4 separate regions of the Homo sapiens genome follow, and all the other regions are linked to region 1. The links are contacts of gene promoters, found by promoter capture Hi-C in human tissues and cell types (Jung and others, 2019). All regions are on one chromosome and are shown on one strand. The core of a region is centred on a gene start or on the middle of the fragment in contact, and the rest is flanking DNA. Distances in the headings are between cores, read along the strand shown.

The links. The method cuts DNA at HindIII sites, captures the fragments that hold promoters and counts their contacts. A contact is called where the count stands out against the background at its distance.
Region 2: a contact is called between a fragment that was not itself captured here and the fragment with the promoter of HAO1 in region 1, in 1 of the 25 tissues and cell types used here (dorsolateral prefrontal cortex).
Region 3: a fragment that was not itself captured here is called in contact with the fragment with the promoter of HAO1 in region 1 in 1 of the 25 tissues and cell types used here (dorsolateral prefrontal cortex).
Region 4: a fragment that was not itself captured here is called in contact with the fragment with the promoter of HAO1 in region 1 in 1 of the 25 tissues and cell types used here (lymphoblastoid cells).

What each region holds. Positions count from the first base shown.
Region 1 is chr20:7,939,201-7,944,021 of GRCh38, forward strand. It overlaps HAO1 (hydroxyacid oxidase 1), which reads right to left and starts at 1,258. Exons shown (of 8, transcript NM_017545.3): 1 at 1,086-1,258. The coding sequence starts at 1,222. The HindIII fragment of the contact is 11,188 bases long and covers 1-4,821 here.
Region 2 is chr20:6,811,222-6,815,761 of GRCh38, forward strand. No RefSeq gene overlaps it. Among named protein-coding and RNA genes, the nearest start is that of BMP2, 46 kb to the left of the region's middle. The HindIII fragment of the contact is 3,349 bases long and covers 1,352-4,540 here.
Region 3 is chr20:6,884,050-6,889,092 of GRCh38, forward strand. No RefSeq gene overlaps it. Among named protein-coding and RNA genes, the nearest start is that of BMP2, 120 kb to the left of the region's middle. The HindIII fragment of the contact is 3,499 bases long and covers 161-3,659 here.
Region 4 is chr20:6,136,361-6,140,964 of GRCh38, forward strand. No RefSeq gene overlaps it. Among named protein-coding and RNA genes, the nearest start is that of FERMT1, 16 kb to the left of the region's middle. The HindIII fragment of the contact is 8,301 bases long and covers 1-4,604 here.

The sequences.
Region 1 (4,821 bases), core at 8-2,507:
GAGCTCATTTGGGTTCCAGGCAAAACCTGAGACAAAGTCAAGGCTTGAAAGGGTTGGGGAGAGGCCGTATCCTTCACCCCATTGCCATTTTCAGTCTTCTACATGGATTTGTGGGTGAATCAGTGCTGCCTACCAGAGACCACCTTGGCCAGGATAATTTTATTTCTCCTAATTTAAATATGGAAAACTGATTTTGAGTGATTTTGTTGTAGACTAAAGAAGAAATCAGGGAGGAAGGCTAATTCTCTCCCCCTGCATATTTTCTGCCTTTTTGTCTTTATCACCATCAATGAGTACCCACAATACCGATTGCCTTTACTAACAGCCATAATGTTAGATGGATGAGACTGAGTGTAGTGTAGTGAAGGCACTCCTCTCTTGCTCCAGCAAATAAACCATTTTTGTAACTGCTATAAAAAAAAACCCTTTGAAATGATTTTATTTCTTGTTTTTATTACAAACAGAAAACATAAACCATGTCACCCACCATCTTGTGCTTTGAAATATGAAAGTCAAAGGAAAACTAATTTGGGAAGAGAGATGAAGTGCTTTGAAGGAGAGATGAAACAGCAAAGTTGAAAGATTAATGCTGCATAGACAAATTGAAATCTAAAGTGAAAGTTTAGACAACAGTAATCAAAATGAATGATAACACGAAAAGCCAGCAGGAAGAAAACATTTGAGCCAACAATCCAGTCTGGTTCATCCGGATAAGATGGTTATCTGGCATTTAATGCTGTTTCCTACACCATGAACATAAGCATTTACTGTCATACTAAGAAAAAGAAAAGTCATCCGAATTTATCGCTATTTTTACATGTAGTTAAATTAATTGTTGTCATATTTCCAAGTGAAGTAACATAGGTTTGGCTTTTGCAGTCAGTTCCTCAAGATTCACAGGCTTGGAATATTTTTTAACAATTTAAAGGCCCAAGATTTCTTACAGCCCCAAGAACTTTTCCCTCTCTACTAAGCACAAATCTGAACAAATAATTACACACCACCAACGTAAAACTAGGAGATCTTATTTTGGTACGGTCTTTGTGTAATTTTAAAACATGATTTTAAAAAATAAATTTTCTTACCTGGAAAATGCTGCAATATTATCAGCCAAAGTTTCTTCATCATTTGCCCCAGACCTGTAATAGTCATATATAGACTTTGGAAGTACTGATTTAGCATGTTGTTCATAATCATTGATACAAATTAGCCGGGGGAGCATTTTCACAGGTTATTGCTATCCCAGATGGAGTTCGTTGTTTTTTTTTTTTTAATGTATTGCTTTCTACATCCTCACTGTTCTGTTATTTGTCAATTATTAATAGACTTTTGCCAAAGTTCAGATTTAGTTCTCTGTTGCTTACATCAAGTGAGCAAACATTATATGCTTAGCCTTTGAAATTTCATTTGTAGGCTATCTGCCAAAGAACACCGAAGTCACTATCTGCCAAAGAACACCAAAGTTGAGGTTGGGAAGGCAGCAGAAGGTGATTAGGTGTCTATCACATTAAAAAGGGGAAAGGAATAAGTAAAAAATTAAAGACTTAGAGGAATACCTGTATGAAACCACTCTTGGTTCAGTTTTGCCTAAGGCTGCTTATTGCACATGGTCTGTGCCTGTGCTCTTTGCTTGATACCCAGAATAGGCTGCCCACTCATTTTCTTTCCACATTTGGATCATGCACAAATCATGTAAACAAGAGCTTATGAACTGAACGGGGCATCCATGAAATATGGGGCATCCGTGAAATTCAGGGCTTCTGCACAATATAAAATTTAGCTGATTACAAACATAGACATTTGGCTTTAACATGGAACATTAAGGCCAAATTGACAGCTAATTGTTTTATTCATTCTGTATATTTGAGGTTTACAACATGATATTATGAGATACATATACACAGAAAAATGGTTACAGTAGGGAGGCCAATATAATATATGTATCATCTCACCCGTAATTACTTTTTTGTGTGTATGACAAGAACAGCTAAAATCAACTTATTTAACAAAAATTCCTAATATGATACAATTTTATTAACTTTAGTCCTCATTTTGCACGTTTGCTCTCTAGACCAGGGGTCCCAAACTCCCCAGCATGGACTGGTACTGGTCCGTGGCCTGTTAGGAACCAAGCTGCACAGCAGGAGGTGAGCAGCCGGTGAGCAAGCTTTACAGACTGAGCTCCGCCTCCTATTGTGAACTGCACATGCGAGGGATCTAGGTTGCGCCACTCCTTATGAGAATCTAATGCCTGATGATCTGAGGTGGAACAGTTTCATTCCAAAACCATCCACCTACCCCCACTGCCCATGGAAAAATTGTATTCCACAAAACTTGTCCCTGGTGCCGAAAAGGTTAGGGACCCTGTTGTAGATTTATGTATCCTACGTGTCTACTATTTTGTATCCTTTGACCTATATCACCCCTTTTCCTCTTCCCTGCTTCCCACTAGTGGTATTCACTGTTTCATTCTCTAGCTCTGTGCATTTGAAGTCTTTTTTAAAACAAAATCCCACCTATAAGTGAAATAATGCAATAATTTCCCTTTTGTGCCTGGCTTATTTCACTTAGCATAATGTTCTCTGGGTTCTACTGCAAATGACAGGATTCCCTTCTCTTATAAGGCTGAATAATATTTCATTGTGTGTATATCTATACATTTCCCTTATCCATTTGTCTCTTAATGGGCATTTAGGTTTACCATTAATTCTTTTTTTTTTTCTTTTTGAGATGGAGTCTTTCTCTGTCTCCCAGGCTGGAGTGCAGTGGTGTGATCTCGGCTCATTGCAGCCTCTACCTCCCAGGTTCAAGAGATTATTCTGCCTCAGCCTCCCAAGTAACTGGGACTACAGGCATGTCCACCACGCCTGGCTAATTTTTGTATTTTTATTTAGTAAAGATGGGGTTTCACTATATTGGCCAGGCTGGTCTCAAACTCCTGACCTCAAGTGATCCAACCACCTCGGCCTCCCAGAGTGCTGGGATTGCAGGTGTGAGCCACTGCACATGGCCTACCACTAATTCTTAGAGTCTTATCTTGCCCTGGAGAGGGTATAGGGAAGTGCTATTCCAAAAGACCTGTGGTCTCAGTCTATAATTTCACTCAATCATGGAACACCTGGGGAAGATTCACATTAGTAGGATATGCTTGAGAAAGCAATGATTTTAACTACAGTTAGACCTGAGTTTCAATCTAGGAGCCGCCACTTAAAGCTGCTTGCCAGTTGTTCACTATCTACATTCCAACCACCTACACCTGTAGGAGAACTTGCTCTTGAACTTGGAGCCTGCTTTTTTCATAAACATAGCATGCCAAATAGTATAGTTCCATACCCTGTGGAACAGCCCTCAATCACAAGCCCAAGAAAGTTCATTCTTCTGGTGGGATTACTCCTAGGATTATGTTCTACATTGCAGGTTTCAGTTATCCACAGTGTGAGCTGGTTGATAATCTATGCTGTGTTGGCTATGTTCCTTTTTTGTTTGTTTTTTGTTTTGAGATGGAGTCTCACGCCGTCACCAGACTGGAGTGAAGTGGCGCAATCTCGGCTCACTGCAACCTCCGCCTCCCAGGTTCAAGCAATTCTCCTGCCTCAGCCTCCCGAGTAGCTGGGATTACAGGCTCATGCCACCACACCCAGCTGATTTTTGTGTTTTTAGTAGAGATGGGGTTTCACCATGTTGGCCAGGATGGTCTTGATCTCTTGACCTCGTGATCCGCCCAACTCAGCCTCCCAAAGTGCTGGGATTACAGGCATGAGCCACCGTGCCCGGCCTGGCTGCCTTCCCTTCTAATCAGACTTCCCTACTCCTCATTGGTGCTCCCTTCACCTCCCAAATAAACTCCTTGCATTTGAATGCTTGCCTCTCAGTCTCCTTTTGGTGAAACTCAAACCAAGACAAAGAGAAATATTCATCCCTACCCTGAGGAGTGACTGTGAGGACAAAGGATATATCATCGCTTAAACACCTGGCATATAGTAGGCACAGTTGACCTTTGAACAAAAAAAAGGGTCCACTTATATGTAGATTTTCTTTAGATTCTTCCACCCCTGAGACAGCAAAACCAACTTCTCCTCTTCCTCCTGCTCCTTATTCTACACAATGTGAAGATGACAAGGATGAAGAGTTTTGATGTACCACTTACACTTTATGAATAGTAAATATATTTTCCCTTCCTTATGATTTTCTTAATAACATTTTCTTTTTTCTAGCTTGCTTTATTGTAAGAATACAGTATATAACACATGTAACATATAAAATATGTGTAAGTTGATTTTGTTATTGGTAAGGCTTCCAGTCAACAGTAGGCTACTAGTTGTTAAGTTTTGGGGGAGTCGAAAGTTTTACACGGTGGGTCGGTACCTCTAACCCCCATATTGTTCAATGATAAACTGTATTTCATTAATATTACCCACCCTCATCTTCTCAATATACTTTACCAACACATTTTTCCAAAAGACTTTTGTTTAATGTCAATTATATAAGGACAATTCCCTAATGTACGAGAGATTGGACAAAGGGATTCTTGAGCTTCTGGAAGGCCATTGCCATTTTTCTTCAAGTAAGTTAATCCCTTTGAGTATTTCTTTGCTAGATTTGCAATTAGTCCAGTTTATTTTCTACACCCCCAAGAGAAGTGTCTTTCATAACTAATGTATATTTATATTATCAGATCTTTTTGAAAATTGCCTTATCCCATGCTTCATGAGGCTTTATATGGTAGAAAGAATAGGGTGTAAAATCATATCTTACAGTGGGTAAATACCCTTTGAGTTTATTTTGGAGAAGGAAAATCGTCTAAGATGAAGAAGAATACTA
Region 2 (4,540 bases), core at 1,776-4,275, 1.1 Mb before region 1:
CAATTGTCACACATTCTTACCCCAAAAGGGGCTTTCAGAGGTCACCTGGCTGAGCACACCGCTTCCCAGCTGGCGACCACCTGTCTTAGTGACTTTAACACTCTGGATTCAAAATAGGAAAAGTGTGTGCTCTTACTTCTCTGGCTCAAGGCAAGGTTTAAAGATTTAAAGGTCCCTGGGTTCTTTGGGTAAGGATTTCTCATTGTGAATATAAAGGGATTCTTATCATTACCAAAACATTCTGAAAACAATGCTGTTCCTGGCGTTTAACCCAATGTCGTATCTGCACACAAGATAACTATGCACTGAAATCTTACTATCTAATGTTTTCAAGGTTTCAAAAAGCAAGAGAGTGGTAAATAAGGGGGATATTGCAAATGGAATTTCTCTGCAGCCTCACAATTGAGCTTCTGAAAACTCCATAAAAAAACACTAAGTGAATTAAGCCTATAAAATCTGCATTGTCCCCACTTTTTTTCCTCCTTGATTCCTCAAAGTCCTCAGGCTTAAAGACCCCAGGGAACTGGCAGGTGTAGATTTCCATGGAAACCAACCCTAAAAGAATGAAAACCCAAGGAGAGAATTGTGTGAAGTGCCCTCACTCCTGTGTCATTTCCTTGCCAACAGTTTTCGAGGTCAACCTGGCTTATTTCATGAAATTAGAGGCCCTGCTGTCAGGATTTCCCCAGGCAAAAAGGGTTTGCTCAGCTCCATTGGTTGTAAATCCACAGATTGTGGTTGTTCTCTGCTTCTAGAAGAACAGCCTTCACGATTCTGCCTGACTTTCAAATGCCTTTTATACTGGCCTCATTCTGATTAACCAGAGCCGTGCTTTTTTCCACAGTTAGATTGGGTGTGCTTACTTTAAAATATTCATTGAAAAATAAGATATTACTTAATATGATGTTATTGAATACAATATTCAGAAATAACGTATTCAAAAATATTTTTTAAAAACCACATGAAAAGAGTAATATGTGTTTATAGAGTATATATATATGTATGCGTGTGGTTAAAAAACTTCCAACAGTACAGAAAGTAAAAAAAGAAAAAAGGAAAATTTCTATCTCTTTCTCTCTTTCCAAAGGCAAAATGGATAAAAAGTCTTAGGAGTCACCATGATTTCTCCAACACTGGCCTAAGGAGCACCGTCATTAATGTCTGCCTGGATGGAGAAATAAGCCTCAATTTAGGAAAATCTCTAGGCTTGAAATCTATTAGGGAACTCCTCTGTACCTTGCTTTTGTAATTTAATAAAAATATAGCTTAGAAGGCGTTCTTTTTTTTTACTTTTTTCGTTTTCCTCCTCTCCCCTCATAGATGTTTTTTATCTGTTCACAGACCCAACTCATGTAGTAGAGCAATGGTTCTTAAACTTGAGAGCACATTGAATTCCCTGGAGGACTCCGTGCACTTCAGATGATCCACAGAGCTCCTGATTTAGTAGGTCTGGGGTGGGGTCTCCGAATTTGCATTCCTGAGTAGCTCTCAGGTGCTGCTGTGCTGCGGGGTGGTGTACTATCTTTAGGTAGTGCTGTCATTGATTGCTTCAAGCCGACTTAGAGATCCACCTCGGCAGTTATAATATGCCATTGTTTGAACTTACCCTGTTTTTATCTAATCTCATATTGTCGGACACTTAAGTTCTTTCCAATGTCTTCCTGTTATTCTCACAACAACCTTAAGATGAGATAATAAGAATAGCTACTATTTTTGAGTACTTAGAATGGGCCAAGCACTGTGAATTACTTTATCTGCATAGCACTTCTATCCTGAAGGTACTACATTATTCTTGTTTTACAGGTGAAAGAACTAAGTCTAGGAGAAATTAAGTAGTGTGATTAAAATAAGAAGTGAGAGAGGCTGGGAATCTAAGAAAGACTCATCTGGTTGCAGAGTCCATGTTCTTTCCAGGGTCTCCACCCACAAAAGTTTACAGGCTAGTTGGACAATTAAGGATGAAACACAATGAATAAGAATAACAGAAGTAATGATTGCCAGAAGCAAGGCAGAGGAGAGAAGTTGGCTTAATCAAATAATCCAACTGTGACTTTGCATCCCACAGGGCCCTGTGCTTAGAAATGCTCCTGTTTGCTTTCCTGCTCCAGTGTCATTGTCTTGAAATTCTTAACAATTTTTTAACAATTGTCCCGTATTTTCATTTTGCATTGGTCTCCACAAATTATGTAGACACTCCTGGAAGGGTTAATTTAGTCTTCAAACTTCAGCCAGCCAAGAGCTTTAGCAATGACTTAGTAACCACATTTTACAGATGATTTTTGTAATGTTTTTCCTACCATGCTTTGTTTTTACCCTCCAAATGGACACACTCTTGGGCTGATGTTTTCTACCTGGAATTTGTTCAGGGAGGTATTTTCTTGACAAGAAGAAACATCATTAGGATGATAAATATGAAGGGAGATAATACTATACACAGCTTTCCAAAATCAGTCAGAAATGTTGTCTTTGGTGGGGGGGACGAAATCATTTGTTAATGCTGCATCTCCTGCCCCTCATTGGTTTGCTAATATATGGCTATTTAGCTGTAGTTGACAGCCTCTGAAATTTATTATTTTTATATAAAGCAGATATTCTTTTTTTAATTTCATTTATTTTTATTTTTTATTTATTTATTTTTTTGAGATGGAGCCTCACTCTGTCACCCAGGCTAAAGTGCACTGACACGATCTTGGCTCACTGCAACCTCCACCTCCCGGGTTCAAGTGATTCTCCTGCCTCAGCCTCCCAAGTAGCTGGGGTTACAGACTCCTGCCACCATGCCTGGCTAATTTTTGTATTTTTTAGTAGAGACAGGTTTCCCCTTGTTGCCCAGGCTGATCTTGAACTCTTGGGCTCAAGTGATCTGCCCACCTTGGCGTCCCAAAGTGTTAGGATTACAGACGTGAGCCACCGTGCCAGGCCAGCAAAGTAAAGATTCTGAAGTTTTGCTACATTAACTAATTTTCATCTATTTCCCAGGGAGAAAGAATTATTTTCACTTTTATACGCTAAAGCTGGGAGAATTCCACTGTGAACACAGCGCACACCAACTATGCCCCAGGGGAGTGTTGCCTTGTGTATTACATATTTCACACCATAACAATGTTATCCGATTTTATAATTAACATTAAACTTTTATAGGAAAAAGTACCTTGTTATACTAGTTGTTAACCTTTGGATATATTTAAAGCTCATTTCATAAGGAGCCATATGCTGCTTCATCACCGTCCTAAGTGGGCTGTGTTGCTAAGTGTTATGGGATCTGGTAATAAAAGATACAAACACAATGTGTATGCCCAACAACAGGGGCTGAATTAAGGGAGCAACGGGAGCCTTAACTCTTGAATTTCCTGACTTCTGTGGGTTTCATTTGCAGTCTCAACATTCCAGTAATACTTCGCTTTCTCACACCACTTTTTTATTCTTTCTTCTTCAACATCCCCACCTCCTCTCCAACCCTGATAATAACTGTTTAAACATTCATACTCACTTGCCTACTGCATTGAGTTATATGATTAGTTTGTACCCTTTTAGTGCCATCGATGATAGGGACTCATTATTGAGTCAATGTTTCTAAACTATGGCTCTCTGACACAAATCAATCTGCAAAACGTGTCAGAAGAAAGTACTAGTGAACCCAACAAGTATTTAGACCATTTTTAAAAAATGTAAGCAGCTTACGTGGGGATACATTCTCAAGTGTATTTTTAGAGTAAAAATAGAGAATGGTAAAAAATGGCCATTGAAAAATCTCTTACGTCATTTCTAAAGAATATGTGTGGGTGTGTATTTAATATAACAATGATCTTCACAAAAGCTTAAAGAACACTTACACCAGACCAAAAGAAGGAATCAAAGAATTAACCTTCATGCAGACACCGGGAAACCATCTGTGTCCTAGCATTTTCCTAGGGGTGAAAAGGGAACGGGTGGGTGAGGCTAATTGTGTCTTCTTATCTTTCTGGGGTTTACTTACTTTTTAAAATAGTAAGCATTCAAATGTTAATTTATGTTAATTGATTGCTTGTTCATGAGGATTAAGAGAATTTGTGGAGTCTCATTGGATGGAGGGTAACGTTTTAAAGTCAGCACCTGAGTTAAATTTGATGCAAATGTATATTTCTGGCATTAACTTGAATTTCTGTAATATTTCTATTCAGAGAGTTGAGACATTTTGATTGCATTATTCTCCAACTTCTAGGAAAATGTAGTAATTCAGTTAGATTGTGTGGAGCATAAAGCAGTGCTTCTCAAACTCCAATCAGCCTATGAATCCCCTGGTGAATTTTTTTAAATATGGATTTGGTAGGTTTGAGATAGGACCTCAGATTACATGTTTTCAACAAGTCCCCAAGACATGTTGCTGCTGTCGGTCTGCAGACTACATGCTGGATAGAGAGAGTCTAATGGAATAAGTACTGCAAACTGGGAAAACGGTAGTCATGATACCTAGCTTTACTTATGCCTTTTTGTGCAAAATGTCTTTATTTTAGCTTCTTCACTTGAAAACAAAGTGAGGGAGAGGAGGTTACCTTGCTAA
Region 3 (5,043 bases), core at 660-3,159, 1.1 Mb before region 1:
TGGTATACTCATTACCGGGGATGAGCAAGGAACAAAATGCTAGGTTCACTTCCAGCCTCCAAGAGTTCAGCAGCTCATTTGAACCTTATCTGAACTATCAAAAGTTTTGACTCTGCAGAAACCTGTGTTTGGGGAAGGGGCAGGAATGTGTGGCTCAAGAAAGGCTTTAGGATGAAGTGGGGGTTGTGGGGGGAGATGTTGGAAATTGTGCAAAAACTAGTTTCCTTGTGAGTGATCAGGTACTTCCTGATTCTGGCTGGGCCAGAAATACCACAAAAGCCTTTCTTGAAATTTCTGAGATCTTTGGAAGGTCTTCCTCCAAGCAGTTTGCCAGTTCTGCATGCCTGGGTTTTGGCTAGGGCTGGAGACCAAAGTATGTGCAAGAGGAAACCGTTTAATAGAAAGTTACCTGTATACTTAAGAATTGTCAAAAGAGTTTTACCTCTACTAGAATAAAGCCTGAATGGTTTGATCAGTGTCAATGATCTTAACCACTCCCATTCCTCATAGAAAGATGAAGCTGAAAGATGACATTGGAAATTGCTAATGCAACCCACTTATTTTATAGGGGCAGTCAGGATATCCATAGAAACTATTGACTGGGTCTATACACATGTGGACCAGAGTGAGAACTAAAGAGCCAGTAGAGGAACAAAAGAGGAAGAAAGGGGAGCCAAGCTGTTGAAAAGCTTGAGTTCTGTCTTTACTCTGCCATATTAGTGGTGTGATCTTAGGCAAGTCACTCCAATTCTCTGATCCTCTCTGGATCATTTCAACCACAAAATACTAAATTAAATGTTGTTGTAGGATGAAAGTACTAAGAAAGGGTGATTTGGAAGCCAGACCAAGCTGGATGAAAAGAGTGTCAAATTGGGAAGAGAAAGAATGGCAGCTAGGAAATGCTGGTGAGTTGGAGAGAAAACATTGAGTGGAAACAAAAGAAACTTGATGGGAAATGACTATTTTGCATTGAGTAACAACAGACAATCATAACATAACTTGAGGAGAAAGTAAAGTTGTTTGATGCAATTTTAAAAGATGTCAAAATAGCCTTAAGTTTTATGAAATAAACGAATATTCCAAAGAGGCAAGCATGAAAGGAAGAAGTGTTCAAATATGGGAGACACTAGGTCGGGCGCGGTGGCTCACGCCTGTAATCCCAACACTTTGGGAGGCCGAGGCGGGCAGATCATGAGGTCAGGAGATGGAGACCATCCTGGCCAATATGGTGAAACCCCATCTCTACCAAAAATACAAAAAATTAGCTGGGCGTAGTGGCGGGTGCCTGTAGTCCCAGCTACTCGGGAGGCTGAGGCAGGAGAATGGCGTGAACCCAGGAGGCGGAGTTTGCAGTGAGCAGAGATTGCGCCACTGCACTCCAGCCTGGGCGACAGAGCGAGACTCCGTCTCAAAAAAAAAAAAAAAAAAAAAAAAAAAAGGGAGACACTAGGACAAATTAGTTTCCTAAATCATGCTTCACGGGACTAAGGGCCAGAGCACAGAATACCCCACTACTTCTTCCTCAACCAGAGCAGTTGCCAGTTTATCTCTTCCAAGCAAGCTTTTGTTTAAAGAACGTTTTCTGAAGCTAAGGAAAAAAATTTCTAATTGCTAACCTTGCAAGAAATCAAAAAAACGAGTGGTACTTTAATGAGTTCATTTATTGTGACACCTTTAACAGATACAACTGCAGGCCCTTGAGTGAATGAAGATCTGAAGTGGCTGTTCTGTGTAAAATACACGTGGATTTTGCAATGTGGCCATTCTAATTGGCAGGTAACTTCAACATCAGAAATCTCCAAGCTGGGCTCTCTGAGGAGAGCGGGACTAGCTCTCTTATAGGCACCAACATTGCAGTTTGGATTATGGTTTTTTGACGAAGGGTATTCAGTGTGTCAGAGGGAAGGAAGTCCAGGGCCAGGGTCAGCCATCTTTCCTTCTGCCCGCAGTAATGTTGACCTCTCGAGGAATTGATGACAGTGGAAGAGTTCGGGAAAGGAAAGGGTGGTCAGTAGCTCCAGAGTATAAACATTGGGAACAGGTTTGAGAAGAATGCTCAGGAAAATAGAAACAACTAACCAGCAACTAAACAACTAAATTGCCTGACAGGGAATCATGGAAGCTAATCAATGCAAAATTGGTGGTCAGGTAGGGGCGGGCAATGTTGACATTGAAGTCTTGTGGACAGGCTTCCTGTGTTGATTTAGTAACCACACAATGGGTAAGGGAGAGGGGATCTCTGATCATAGCACCACTAATACTAGGATGCTTCTCTTTGACAGGCATAGGGTATTTTTTTTCTTTTAAGCATTAAGTAAGTGAGAAGATCACCTTCCTTTCTTTCTCTTTTGCCCTAAGGGCCTGCCCATTTCCAGCTGCGTAATTACCTCCTTCATAAGCCTTTACTCTGAGGCATGAAGGCTCTAGCCAGTACCCTGACTAACTCCCTGCTGGGGATGCCTCCGCTGAACAGAGCAGAGAGACCTGCTGATTTCAGAGCCAAGCGCAGAAAGCAGCTGGCTCTTAACTTGTTGTTTAAGAGAGCCAAGCAGAACAGAGCTGACGATTGCCTGGCCAGTGGGAGCCTGAGCCAGGCACCTGTCAAATCCTGCTTTGCTGGGTTCTCCTGCACCCTGCTCTGCAGTGCGCTTTTCCGAGACTGGCGGTCCACACCCCACAGGCTTTCTCCCTCTACAGCCAACCAGCTGCCAGCACCCCTGTAAATTCTTTCTCCAGCTAATATTTTGATCCCTAAGCAAGTTTCTCTCTCTTTTACTGGCAGGAAAAAAAAATGTCAAAAAGGGAAAATGATGATGTCTCTATTTTCTTCTGATAGCAGGCTACCAAACACTCCCAGCATATCCATTCTTTCGCTTTGGGAAAGAGGGAAGGCAAAGTGGTCTTGACGGTGTGTGTGCAAGGAGAGACATTCGAATGTGTATTTTTACCTGTCATTTGGGTCTTGAGAAGGTTGAAGTCTGCATATGGAAAAACTGGCCCTTTCTCTTCTCAGTTCTGAGTTTTAGAGTTAGTAAACTATGTAAATTATTTTATTTCTCTGTGCTCTGCATCCAGGCTGATGTCCTGGAGAGAGGGCTTTGAAAAACTGCCCCTGAAGCTATTGGCATTAACTGAAATTGATGTTTCACAGGACTGGGATAAAGAGGGTTATCAGTAGCTCAGGCCTGGCCTGCCTTGGGGACCACTGCCCACTGGATTACCTATTGGCTTAGGGCATAGGCACTGGCTTAGGAATTAAAAGTACTAAGTTCCAGACAAGCTCTGTTTGTGAAATCACTTAGGCCTCCAGCAAGCTTTAGCTTTTCCAAGGTTTTAGTGCTCTCATTTGTAGAATGAGACGGTCAGTTAGACATCACCTCCAAAACGTTACGAGTTTCATGAATCTGGCTGCACTTACTTTGTGGAGCCATCAGCCCTAACCTGAAGCCTGGGAAACAAGTAAACGTGTTTCAAGTTTCTTAAAAGTTGCTTTCTCAAGTTACTTCCTTTCTTCACACAAGAAATGAAAGGGAAACACTGCTGCAAAGAGCCCTGGAAACAGGTCCTGATTTTAGAAGAGAGCCTTGAGATGACAGGGGCATGGATGTCCTGCACATTCCTTCAGCATAACCGCAGAAAGCCTGCATATATTTTTCGTTGTTTGTAATTGCAAACTTTTCTAAAAATCTACCCTTTAGAAATGATTGCCTTTCTCTGAGGATCAGATCACAGTCCAGCCAATTCTCAGAGAAAATTAAACAAAGAATACTGAGCCTGGAATCTGTGATTAGGATGCCTGGCGAAGTAAAAATGACCGTGTACTTTCCCAAGTGGGTCAGCTATGGCCCCAGATATCCAAACAGGATGGCACATGAATCATGCCGGTTTGATGGGCTCTCTCAGGCTGGATTTACAGCTGGATTTAGGACTAAATGTTGGAGGTAAATCTAAAGGAGCAGAAGGGCTGGGGAGGGAATGGGAAATCAAGGGAGTTTCCATCAAAGCTTTTCAGAAGCAGAAATCCATTCTACCTTTGTCGATGACTGTGGTTTGCTAGGATCAAGATCAAAGGAATCACCGTGGGCAGAGCCATGACAAGTATGAGGCTCAGTCTGGTGCAACCTAGCATTAGCCCCTCTCTTAGGCTGCCGTCTAGACTGGAAGTGGGTGCTCATACCAGACCAGGCTGAGTGTGTAGTCAGGGTACTGTTTCATGACGGGGCAAAGGACTTATAAAGCCTATCTTGATCTCCCCAGGGAAGCCCACAGCCAGGGGCAGTGAGGCACAAAGTAGCTATATCCCTGATTATGTCCTTGGGAAAACAGGGGACATGGAATGACCATGAAGCCAGGTGGTTGACAGGGACAAGGAACTGATTTTGGCAAAATCCAACTGGCTTGTTTTGTGTATCTTTCCCTCTCCTCCCTGATTGCTTTAGAAGGCTGCTCTAAAAGTTTACTAAAAAGTTGTTCGTTTGCAGGCCTAAGACACTTGATATTTGAACTAGAAGGTCTTCTTATCCACACTTTACAGACCGAAAAACTGAGGCACAGAGGGGTTAAATTAGGTCACCCAGCCATGGGTGGAGGATCCGGGAATGAATTAGGACAGATTCATTCCACAGCCCATCTCATAACGACTGACTACTCTAAAGGATATTGGTAAATTTGAATCTTATTTACTGGAAAAGCCCCTCTTGTAGAGCTGGTGCATCACAGATACCAAATAGACCTGGTTCTTATTTGTATTCCTTCATTTATAAGACTCACAGTATATCTATTAAGTTACAAAGCTAAAGATTAAAGAATTTGGTGCTGAGAACATGAATGTAAACTCATCATTTGTTGCTAAATGTATTGGGGTCAGTCAACTTGGGTTAGTGACCACAAAGAGGAACTTTTAGGAGGCCCATGGCTAGCTTTAGAAATGCATGGTTTTTGCCTAAAGCAAAGTCATCTTGAACATGTTTTGATATTATCTAATATTCCTTATTGTTTTCATAAACACTTACGGCTCAAAGGAAACCCAAGCTCACCATGCCC
Region 4 (4,604 bases), core at 1,582-4,081, 1.8 Mb before region 1:
CTTCCCAGCTTCTAGTATCCTCTGTTCTGTGCCTGGCTTATTTCCACTTAACATTATATCCTCCAGTTCTATCCATGTTGCTATGAATGAGAGGATTTCATTTTTTTTTTTTTTTTGTGGCTGAATAGTACTCCATTGTGTATACATACCACGTTTTTAAAAACCCATTCATCTGTTGTTAGATACCCAGGTTGATTCCATGTCTTAGGTATTGTGGACAGCACTGCAATTAATCATGAGGGTGCAGCTGGTTGGTGGTTTCTATGATAATCTACTATTGAGGACACAACTGCCTTAATTATTCCCTTCTCTCCTCCTTAATCTTATTCATAGTTAAGAAAAATGGATTAAAGAAGAAACACAGAGAAAGAAGTCTCATGATTCAGCTAATTCTTCATTCATTTATTCATTTGCTCTCATTCACCCATTCATCCAGAAAACATTTATTCCATACCTCCTGTGTGCCAGGGACTATGCCATAAACACGTCCAAACCATGGTGGTGCTTCTGTGATTTCTTTCACTGGAAAAAATTAAAATTTATTTACAAAATGAACATTATCACAAGGATCCAGATCACTATACTGAGTCTTTCCATTTGTAGAATCACCCCCTCGACACACATCAACCCAACCATCCATCTAACTCACCTACCCATTCACCCACCCATTGCCCTATTTACCCTTCTACTCTCCCATTCACAATTCACCCATCTCTGCGTTTATCCACTTATCTGTTGTATTACCTGTTCATCTACCTAACTATCCACAAATGAACACCTCTGGCCTGCCTAGCAATATTCCTAGGCTCATTCGCTGATTTGTTCAATCAATCAATATTTGCTGAGTGTCTTCTAAGTGCCAAACACTTTTTAGGTGCTGGAGATAAAAGTGATGGATAAAAGTGGGGATAAAATGACAGACTGCCCTCATGAACTTTGCCATACATGTGTGAAAGCAGACATTAAACCAATACTTAGGAAGATAAAATGTGAGGCTTCTTCTCCCTCTCTCCTAATGTCCTTTTTCCTGAAATCCCTCTCTGTTTGTTGTGCTTGAAAGCATTGATTTTGGAAAATGTACAAAGCACTTAGCATAGAAAGATAACTGGGTTGGAGAAAAAGAACATCACTTCCGGAGATGAGTGGGATTTATGTCCACTAGATTCTAAAATCCTGGAGGGCACGAAGAGTGTATGTTTCAATTCCTCACTTTATCCTCAGAGCCCGTTACCCAGTAGGCACAAAACAAATTTTTGCTAAATGATAAAGAGGGCAGAATCACTCTGTCATTTTCTGAGTTTTGACTCATTGAAATGTTTAAGGAAAATCATTTTTAAAAAGAAGTTAAGGACCAGGCGCAGTGGTTCATGCCTGTAATCCCAGCACTTTGGGAGGCCAAGGCAGGAGGATCACTTGAAGTCAGGAGTTTGAGACCAGCCTGGCCAACATGGTGAAACCCAGACTCTACTAAAAAAATACAAAAATTAGCGGGCATAGTGGAGAGTGCCTGTAGTCCCAGCTACTCGGGAGGTTGAGGCAGGAGAATCGCTTGAATTCTCCCAGGAGACTTCTCACTCCTGGGAAAATTCAAGCCAGAGGTGGAGGCTGCAGTGAGCTGAGTTTGCACCACTGCACTTCAGCCTGGGCGACAGAGTGAGACTTGGTCTCAAAAAAAAAAAAAAAGAAATTGAGACCTTAAGTACTATTTTTGCAGATTCTTGGAGCTGTTCTAGCAGAGGCAGAAAATCATCCCAGGAAACAGAGAGGTTTTGTAGACTGAAGGATCCAGAATTGATAATTTAGAGTTGATTGAATTTTAAGGACTCCCAAAGAAATACGTACAAATACCAGGAAAAGATATAAGAAATACTAGTATATAGGAAACAAATACTAGGAAAAGAATATTCTCAACACCTCTAAGCTTGGCAGGATGGAGACAGTCAAACAATTCGGAGGATATTTTCTAACTATCTACAAATGAGCACCTACAACCTGCCTGACAACGTTTTAAAGCAAATATTAAATAAGTATTTGCTTTTAAAATGTATTTTCTTGTATTATAAGATGCATGTTGGCTGGGTGTAGTGGCTTATGCCTGTAATCCCAGCGCTTTGGGAGGCTGCGTTGGGAGGATCAGTTGAGCCCAGGAATTCAAGACCAGCTTAAGTGATGTAGTGAGACCTCCATCTCTACAAAAAATAAAAAAAATTAGCCTGGCACAGTGGTGCACCCCTGTAGTCCCAGCTATCTGGGAGGCTGAGGCAGGAGGATCGCTTGGTCCAGGGAGGACAAGGCTGCAGTGAGCTGTGATGGCACCATTGCACTCTAGCCTGGGAGACAGAGTGAGACCCTGTCTCAAGACAAACAAACAAACAAAAAACTGGTGTGTTGGTGGTGGAAGATTAAGAATGCCCAATGAGAGAGCCCTGTGTGGAAACCCATTCCCCTCTCCTCAGGGGACCACCTGTATTCTTCTACTCACTTTTTGGGAGAGCTCCCAAAGGAACCCTAAGCTGTTTCTATGGCCCTCTGACCGTCCTTTACTGAGAAGACACCAAAGGGAAACAAAAGGCAGTTTTATGACATGTCTGGAAGGTGGGGCGTTCAGTCCAGCAGCTTAGGACTCAACCGAGAGACACTGGGGCAGGTGGGCATATGTGGAGGTTATGAACAAATACAGACTCTAGCTTCAAGAAGATTCCCTCAGTCTTCCCAGGTAAGGTGATTGCTGGGACCCAGACAGCCCTCAGGTAGCACTGGGGAGGGTGGAGGTCAAAGAAACCTCACACCCCACACTTCCCAGTTGTTGAGTCTTTGGAAGCCTCTTAATTAAAGTCCCTGACATGCAGAAACAAGTTATCCATTGCTCCCTACCCAGAAATGATAACCTTGCTAATATTTTGATATAAGTTCTTTCAGTTATTTTTTCCTGTCTACATGTAGACAAACATACATAGAAAAGTATTTTTGGCAATAATGGAGTGTCATGTTTTTATTGTTTTGTAAACTGCTCTATTTAAAGGATTAATGTACACATATTTCTATCCTATTAAATATTACCAGTCAGTGGGTATCTGTTTACTCTCTAGTGTTATCATGGTACTTGCTAAGGAATTTTAAAGATTTTTTTTTTTTAAATTTTACTTTAAGTTCTGGGATACACGTACAGAATGTGCAGGTTTGTTACATAGGTATACATGTGCCATGGTGGTTTGCTGCACCCACCAATCCATCATCGAGGCTTTGAGCCCCACATGCATTAGGTATTTGTCTTAATGCTCTCCCTCCCTTTGTCCCCCAGCCCCCAGCAGGCCCCGGTGTGTGATGTCCCCCTCCCTGTGTCCATGTGTTCTCATTCTTCAACTTCCATTTATGAGTGAGAACATGGGGTGTTTGGTTTTCTGTTCCTTGTTAGTTTGCTGAGAATGATAGCTTCCAGCTTCATCCATGTCCCTGCAAAGGACATGAACTCTTTTTTATGGCTGCATAGTATTCCATGGTGTACATGTGCCATATTTTCTTTATCCAGCCTGTCATTCACAGGCATTTGGGTTGGCTCCAAGTTAAAGATGTGTTTATCAGAGTTCCTAGTGTTAAGGAGATTATAATTTAGCTAACAAGAGGACATACACATTTAAATTGGTATAGCAATAAAATAATAAAATAACACAAGACAGCATAATAAGAGTCTACATATTACAGCTTGGGGAAGATTGTTGTTAGGAATATAGACTCAGATGACTTGAAATTATCTCAGTGATATTGTTCACTATATGAGTTTGTCACACCATCATTTTTAGTCTGCTCATCGACAAAATAGGAATGAGGATAAAAATAATGCTGATATTGAGGGCTTATTTTGGGGATAAAATAATAACAATACTGATAGTTATAGTAATAGTGGCATTTGCATAGACCTTACCATGAGCTGGGAACTGTTCAAAGATTGTAACACATATTAACTAACCAAACACAGTGGCAGCCCCATGAATCAGGAGTCACAATTATCCCCATTTTACAAATGAGGCAGTGCAGGCACAGAGAAGCCAAGTAACCAGCTCAACGTTGTATAGCTAAGAAGTGTCAGGCTGGCTATAGCCAATAATAATTTAATTGTACATTTAAAAATAACTAAAAGGGTATAATTGAATTGTTTGTAATACAAAAGATAAATGCTTGAGGGGACAGATACTCCATTATCTATGATGTAATTATTATACATTGCATGCCTTTATCAAAACATCTCATGTACCCCATAAATATATGGACCTACTATGTAGCTGCAAACATTAAAAAAATTAAAAAGAAGTGGCGAAGATGAAATTTAAACCCAGGCAGCTTAGCTCTTGTCTGGACTATATATTTGAAAAAGGTTTTGAAACTGGAAAATGCTATGTAAGTGGGGTTATGATTTGTTATTGGTGTAAATGAAAAGTTCCAAACAAGGGGACTAAGCAGCAAGAGGGATGGGCTTCAGTGCAGGGGGCTCACTGCTGATGTGAGGGCTTGGGCAGGCTTCTGGGAATGGTGGACCTTAGAATGGGGGCAGGGAGCTTCTCCACTTGGAAATCAGCTTCCATCCTCATCTTTCATTAGATCAAGAG